3 separate regions of the Homo sapiens genome follow, and all the other regions are linked to region 1. The links are contacts of gene promoters, found by promoter capture Hi-C in blood cells and fetal thymus (Javierre and others, 2016). All regions are on one chromosome and are shown on one strand. The core of a region is centred on a gene start or on the middle of the fragment in contact, and the rest is flanking DNA. Distances in the headings are between cores, read along the strand shown. Region 1 holds the start of RNF138 (ring finger protein 138). Region 2 overlaps MAPRE2 (microtubule associated protein RP/EB family member 2). Region 3 has its middle 11 kb from the start of MAPRE2.

Region 1 (2,544 bases), core at 33-2,532:
AGCCAGGGAGAGCGGGAGAGCGGGAGAGCGGGAGAGCGGGAGAGCGGGAGCTTGGGCTGAGGGGGCTGGACGCGGGGAGCGGGCCCCGAGGCTGAGGAAAAGGCCGCCCCGGGACTCTGAGGGGCGGGGAACGGGACCTCGCGGGGCAGCGACGCTCGGGCAGGCCGCGGCGGGCTCGGTTCCCGCCAGGCGGCAGCCCGGGGTCCCGGGCCGGAGGCCGGGCCTAAGCGACAACCCGGCTCCGCGAGGGGGAGGGGGCGTCTACTCACACGTGCTGACAGGCCGTGGTCCGCACGGGCGTTTTGAGCACCTCCTGACAGACGGGGCAGTAGAAATCATCTTCGGTGTAGGACGTGGCCGCAGAGAGGTCCTCGGCCATGGCGGGGGATGGGGAAACAAGGCGATGGCGACAGCGGCAGCGGCCGAGGTGACGGTGGCGGCCCGGGGCCCGACTCCCTACATGAACCCGGAGGGGGGAGGGGGATCGCATCAGGATACAGCGCGCGCCAGGAAGGGGGCGGGGCCCTGGGTAGGGCGGGGCCGAACGCAGAGACGCTACTGCCGCACGCGCCGGGCAAGAGGCGACCCCTCCCACGGCTCCTCCCACAGGGGGCTGGATGGGGGACGGTGCTTGGCGGGAGGCTGGGCTCGCAGCATGCCGTGGGCCCGCCCCGCTCGCCCCTCACCCCGCCCCAGGACGCGGCCTCACGCTCTAGGCCACGCCCTCACCGGGCTCCAGGCGCGGGCTCGCGCCCCGCCCTCAGCCCCCGTCTTCGCCCAAGGCCTCCCTTTTCACTGCTTTTCCGCCTCTACTCACCCCGACCCCGAGCCCCGAGTGCCCAGCCCGTGTCCGCGGCTTCCTCCCCGCCCCGCTTCCCGGCACCCCGGCCCCTCCACGCTTCCGCCGGGGAGACTCTCACCTAGGAGCCCCGAAGCGGCGTTGTGGACGGAGCTGCTTTTCCTTCACGTGTTCGTAGAGACCCGGCCCAGCGCTTTCCTCGAGCTTCCTGTCCGGCCGCCGCTATCTTCGCAGCCGAGGCCCCGGGGCAAATGGAGGGCGGCGTGCGCTGTGCTTATCGGCCCCTAACGGGGCCGGAGCCGAGGCTCATGGTGCAGGGAGATTCGCCCGCCGCCGCCAGCAGCTCTGTCTTGGCATTGCGCTGCCTACAGCCTACCCGGCCGTCACCGAACGCGGGAGCGCCGGGGATCTGGGCGGAGGAGCCAGGAGAGGCGGGGAGGCACGGGGTGTGAAGTGCGGCCTGTATAGCAACCGGCGCACGGCGCCTTCCGCGGGTTGTGACGTAAGCAGCTGGGCGCCCGCGGTGACACCTGCGCCTCCCCGCCCCGCCTCGCTAGGCCCGGGACCCCAGTTACCTCTCCTGTCAAATACATTGGGCCTTTCAGGAAGTTTTCGTCAATGTTCAAGATTTAGTCTTTACTATTTGCCCTACCAGAATGTTTTGATCTTGTCAAGATGTGTTATAAACAAATATTTGTTACGGGATTTTAATCCTTTGGGGGCAGGATTAAAGTTTCCTTGAGAGGATGTCCACTTTCTCCTTTAACAGCATGACCGATGCTTAAATACGGTCGCAGATGCAGTCTTCTACTACACCTTTGGGTTGATTTTTGATTTTTTCTTTTTTTTTTTAGCTTTGAAGAGAAATGCCGTAGAAGCATGGACGTGGCTTTTCACCAAGGTTATTCACTAATTTAAGTGTTTTTTTTAATTTTATTTTATTTTATTTTATTTTTTGAGACAGGTACTCACTCTGTCTCCCAGGCCGGAGTGCAATTATCTGTACAATTGATAATCTATAAGATGGTCCAACCTGCGTAACAGAGTGAGATTCCGTCTCAAAAAAAAAAAAAAAAAAGAAAGAAAAAAGGCCGGGCGCGGTGGCTCACACCTGTAATCCCAGCCCTTTGGTAAGCGAAGGCGGTTGGATCACTTGAGGTCAGGAGTTCAAGACCAGCCTGGCCAACGTGATGAAATCCCATCTCTACTAAAAATACAAAAATTAACCGGACATGGTGGTGGGAGCCTGTAATCCCAGGTACTCGGGAGGCTGAGGCACGAGAATCGCTTGTACCCGGGAGGCAGAGGTTGCAGTGAGCCGCGATCGCGCCGCTGCACTCCAGCCCTGGCGACAGAGTGAGACTCTCAAAAAAAAAGAAGAACAAAAAAAGGATAAATCGATAAGATGGGATCCACAATGACGTGAAAGAAGCTAAGGAAAATCTGGAACATTATACAGCATCTACAATTAGCTTCAGAGAAAAGAAAGGTTTTATTACCATCCTTTGTTAAAACCCTCCCCCATGGTCTAAATGAATAAACAGAAGCCATTTAAGGGACTATTTAAATCAATTCTGCCATTTATTGTCTATGTTGACATTGGCATTGTTAGGTGTTATGCAGATGTCATGAACTTTGCTCTCAACCTGTTTACATTATTACATATCTATCAGAATGAGAGAGAAAAAATGGTATTTGCCAAAGTATTAAATTTTGCATTAAACGATGGCTATAATGAGGATAGG
Region 2 (2,544 bases), core at 25-2,524, 3.0 Mb before region 1:
CTTACTAAGCTTTTGTTTCCCAGTCTCTAAATTTTACTTGAGACAATTTCTTCTTAGGGAGTTAGAGAAGTCAGGAGCAAAACAACAACAAAACTGCCAAATTAGATGGAATGGGAATGGAAAGAGATCAAGTTTAGGGATCTTCACCACAAAAATTTTTAAAAGGGGGGCATCCAACGCTTTGGCTATTCTTGGCAAAATTTTGGAAGCATGCAAATGGCTCCTTGTTACATTTATTTTTCCTCCCTCTTTTCATTTACTTAGTTTTTAAAATGTTTACTTTAGGTTTGGGGGTACATGTGAAGGTTTGTTATATAGGTAAACTCATGTCATGGGGGTTTGCTGTACAGATTATTTCATCACCCAGGTATTAAGCCCAGTAACCATTAGTTATTTTTTCTGCTCCTCTCTCTCCTTCTACCTTCCCCTCTCAAGTAGACCCCAATGCCTGTTGTTCTCTTCTTTGTGTTCATTAGTTCTCATCATTTAGCTGCCACTTGTGAGAACATATGGTATCCTTGTTACAATTAAAGAAAAAAAATTTTCTATGCACACTTTCCTCTTAAATTTAATAGTGGAATCTAGCAAGAAGGGGACACACAATACAAAGAAAAGAATGTCTTAATTATAGGGTTCTTCTCCACAGAACTAGAAGAGCATCTCCTATCTACCAAGACTACCTCCCAAATGTAACATGTTCATATAAAACTTCTAAGGTAGATTCAGTGTTTTTTTTTTCTCAGCTAAAATAATTATTCTGTTACTATTTTACCCTCTATTTACATATTAAATACTGTTTTTTTATTTTTATTTTATTTTTTATGAGATGGAGTCTCGCTCTGTTGCCTAGCCTGGAGTGCAGTGGCGTGATCTTGGCTCACTGCAACCTTCACCTCCTGGGTTCAAGTGATTCTCCTGCCTCAGCCTCACAGGTAGCTGGGATTACAGGCAAGTGCCACCACTCCCAGCTATTTTTTGTATTTTTAGTAGAGATGGGGTTTCACCATGTTGGCCAGGCTGATCTCAAACTCCTGACCTCAAGTGATCCACCCACCTCAGCCTCCCAAAGTGCTGGGATTACAGGCATGAGCCACAGTGCCCGGGCTAAATAGACTCATTTAATATGTACTTACTGAGGATGGACCATGTAACTAATTGCTGTAAAAGTCATTGTGAACAAAGACTAGGTCTTTTTGTGTGTGTGTGTGGGGGGGACTTTATATTCAAGTTAAGAATATAAGACCTGTACATATTAAAATACAATTCAAGACTATATTATTATGCAAAACATATGTGTATAATTCTATTTAAAAAGATAACCTATTTTTTTAAATGGAAAAAGATTTGAACACTTTACTACAGAAGACACACAAATGGCCAATATGCACATGAAAACATACCCATCATTAGTCATCATGAAAATAGAAATTAAAATCTCAATGAGATACCATTCTACATCCATAAGGATGGCCAACATTTAAGAGACTGATAGTAAGTGTTGCCAAGGATGTGAAACAATCAGAACTCTCATACTGTGCTGCTAGGAATGTAAAATGGTACAACCATTTTGGACAACTGTTTGCCAAACAGTTTCTCAAAAAGTTAAACACCAGCCATATGACCCAATCACTCCACTCCTAAGTATTTTCCCCAGAGAAATGAAAACACCTCCACAAAGACTTGTATAACAATATTCATAGAAACTTGCTTCATAATTCCTAAAAACTGGAAACATAAATGTTCATCAACTGGTGAGCAGATAAACAAAATATGGTATAGCCATACAATGAAATACTACTCAGCAATAAAGAGTGATGAACTACTGAGACATCCCATATGGATGAATCTTAAAATCATTGTGCTGAGTCAAAGTAGTCAGACACTAATGAGTGCATTCTCTGTGATCCCATTTATATAAAATGTAATCTAATCTGTGGTGACAGAAAGCAGATCACTGGCTCCTGGGGCTTTGGGCAGAGAAGATTTGGACTGCAAAGGGTACAAGGAGTCTTTTGGGGGTGATGGAAATGTTCTGCATCTTGACTGTGGTGATGGCTTCAGGGTGGACACACTGCCAAAACTCTGACTCAGACACTTTAAATGGCTGCAGTTTACTGTACATAAATTCTTAATAAAGTTGATGAGGGGGAAAAAAGACTGTAGTATAATTTGTTTGACTTTTTTCCAGGTTCAATTTGAACTTTTAATGAACATCTGCTATGTGCAAAGTATTGTACAGGGTACTTAGAACAAAAAGATTATAGATTTTTATCAATACAGGGTAAAAGAGTAGATTTAAGCTGCAAGCAATAATACTAGCTAACATTCTTTGAGGCATTTACTTTGCACCAGGCACCGTTTGGCACACCTTATGTTCTGTAACACATTTAATCTGCATAAGAACCCTGGGAAGTTGATGCTACTATTATTTCCATATGCACGGTAAGAAAATGAGGCTTAGAGAGGCTAAAAAAATGTTGCCCTAGAAAGGGATGGAGCTGGGACAGAAAGTAAAAGTCTCACACCAGAGCCAAGCTTTGCCCA
Region 3 (2,544 bases), core at 27-2,526, 2.9 Mb before region 1:
AAAAGGCAGAATTTTTAAGTCTCATACTTGCTAGCAAAATAGCAAGGTGTCCATGATGTGAAAACACAGAACATGCCATTGCATGAGACAAGATTTCTCTCTGTGTTGGAATTTATTTCTAATCTGCTTTTTCTTAGATTTTCTCAAGCTTGGATTTAATTTTGTAGAATAACTCATAGAACATGATGTGAATGCAATTTAAAAATACTCAGAGCATTATGATTTCTGTAATCATTCAATCAAATCTGTACAATGTGAGGTTTCAGTCTATTAAACAAAAATGTACTTTTGAATTATACCATCTGGCTAAATTTAAGAGCTTTAAATGTGTTTTCCATAAAAATACAATGTGATAAAAGTTATAATGAAAAGTGTATTAAGTATTAGGAATATAGAAAAGAAAGTAGTCAGGCCTGGGGACACTAGAAAAGCTTCATTAAGATAGTAATATTTTAATTAGTCCTCAATCATTCATTCTACAAATATTTATTGAGAACTTACTATGTGCTAGGAACAATTCTAGACATCAGAGATGCAGAAATTTGTAGACAAAATTCCCTGAACTTACACTTGAGTGTATGAGCAAGTGTATGTGGTAGGGTCAGGAGACAGACAATATATAAGTAAAATATGTAGTGTGTCAGATGGTGGCAAATGCTATAGAGACAACTAAAGCAAGGAAGGAGGACTTGGACTGCAGAGGAAGGGTGTTGTAATTTTAAATGGGGTGACCAGGGTAGACATTCCTGAAAAGATAATCTTTAATCGATGACCTGAGAGAGGTGAGGGACATAGACCTGTGATATCAGAAGAATATTTCAGGTAGAGCCAACAGAAAGTGCAAAGGCCCTGAGGTAGGAGCATGATTTGTTCAAGAAACATTAAGGAAGTCAGGTCACATGTATGTAGCACAGTGAGTGTGAATGTGTGCGTATTGTGGGGATGGGAGAGATAACTGTAGAAGATAAGGTCAGAAAGATCACAGAGAAACCAGAATGTGCAGGGCTTTTAAAGTCTGTTGTAAAGAACTTGGCTTAAAACCAAAGTTAGAAACCAGGCATTTGCAGGAGTGTTAGTAGTGGCAACAGAGATGTGGAATATTCTCTAATCACATTAATAGCAACACCTAATATTTGAATACTTTTTATGGGCCAAGTGCTATGCTTAACAATGAGGAGGTACTTTATTCTCACAAGAAAGGGGGCTATTCTAAGTCCCAATTGTCACAGGAGGTAACTAGTTCAATAACTTAGCCAAATAACCAGACAGGAAGTGGCAGAGCTGAGCACAAACACACTTGCCAGATGTCAAACATGTCATTCTTTTTCCCTAGCTCAGTCTACCTTCCACTAAGGTCTGATTAACCTGGAAGGAAGAATGCAGAATCCAGGGTGGGGAGTGGCAGGGATGAGATAGCTGATGGTTGCAGAGGCAAGAGACTGCTGCCATAAAACGGCACTTCCGTGTAGGAAGCAAGGAAATAAAAACATACAAGGGCTGAGAGACAGAGAGAATAAAAAGGACCCAGGGATGGGAGGCTGTACAGGATAGCAGTATCCATGAGGGTGAGAGATTGAAAGAAATGGAGGGAGAGGAGCTGTAAATTATGGTTAAGAAAAAGGGAGGGGGAAGGAGGAAGAAATGCTAGGATTTGGTGTTAGCAGTATATGTGATTGATAGAGAAAAAAATAATTTTCTTGTCCTTATATAGTGATTAGCTATTTTATTTCTCAGTAAGCGTCAGCTAGCAATGTCCATTTCTTTGATACCTTCTGGAGGGAAAGGAAACTGCAGGCATTTTTTTGGTATTTGTATTCAAAGCTACAATCTGCTTTCATTTTCACTATGCCAAGACTGTTATAATTCAACCATCCAGATACAGACATGTCTATTTGAGTGCTCTCGTTAAAACGTGTCTATGTCCAATTTTATGAAATTCCTCTATTTCCTTTCTCTATTTTATTTCCATCTTAAAATAAAATGCATCTTGTTGAAGTGACTGCATAGGACAGCTAAAAGGGATTAAAAGGCACCTTGGGCTCAGTTGGGTGGCAAGAGAAATGAAGAGACTCCAAGTACTGCTAACAAATAAATTATCTTGCAGACGATTCAGAAGCTTCCCAGAGAAGATTTCCTTAGGGTTCTTAAAAATCAACTAACTCACTGGGCTTTATTTCTGACTTTGATATTAAAGAGTGCAAGCTGAGTGGCAACTCCTTAATATACATACAAAGGAAGTCAGGAGAAAGTGGGGCAATGGTCATTCCATCAGGTACCAGGGACTTCCAGAGTTCCAGAGCTACTCAGAACCCAGGCCATCAAGTGGCAACCAGGGACATTGGAAGGAAGCGTCTTCCTGAGCCTGGAACTTCTCTGTCAAGTCTGGTGTGTACCATGGCAGAGCTATGGCTTCTGGATGGCTCCTCGACAGCGTGTCAAGGGAACATGAGGCCGGCAGCTGGAAAGCAGTGTGAGTAATGGAAGAGAAATTCCTCATTTTCTGACCTCATCCAAATAAAATTTTTAAAAAGAAAATTAAAGCAG

The links. Contacts are between HindIII fragments. The CHiCAGO score rates a contact against its expected background, and 5 or more counts as called.
Region 2: a contact is called between a fragment that was not itself captured here and the fragment with the promoter of RNF138 in region 1, in 1 of 17 cell types (total CD4 T cells). The highest score is 5.5, in total CD4 T cells.
Region 3: a contact is called between a fragment that was not itself captured here and the fragment with the promoter of RNF138 in region 1, in 2 of 17 cell types (total CD8 T cells and total CD4 T cells). The highest score is 8.3, in total CD8 T cells.

Annotation. Positions count from the first base shown.
Region 1 is chr18:32,090,612-32,093,155 of GRCh38, reverse strand. RNF138 (ring finger protein 138) reads right to left here and starts at 1,282. Exons shown (of 8, transcript NM_016271.5): 1 at 921-1,282; 2 at 270-456. The coding sequence starts at 379. It overlaps LOC124904278 (a long non-coding RNA gene), which reads left to right and starts at 1,211. Exons shown (of 2, transcript XR_007066327.1): 1 at 1,211-1,301; 2 at 1,654-1,881. It also overlaps a transcript of RNF125 not described here. RefSeq lists a silencer at 444-863 and an enhancer at 1,534-1,583. The HindIII fragment of the contact is 10,157 bases long and covers 1-2,544 here.
Region 2 is chr18:35,051,673-35,054,216 of GRCh38, reverse strand. The region is part of intron 1 of MAPRE2 (microtubule associated protein RP/EB family member 2); the gene reads right to left. Among named protein-coding and RNA genes, the nearest start is that of MAPRE2, 12 kb to the right of the region's middle. The HindIII fragment of the contact is 2,526 bases long and covers 12-2,537 here.
Region 3 is chr18:35,029,214-35,031,757 of GRCh38, reverse strand. It overlaps a transcript of MAPRE2 not described here. Among named protein-coding and RNA genes, the nearest start is that of MAPRE2, 11 kb to the left of the region's middle. The HindIII fragment of the contact is 1,685 bases long and covers 434-2,118 here.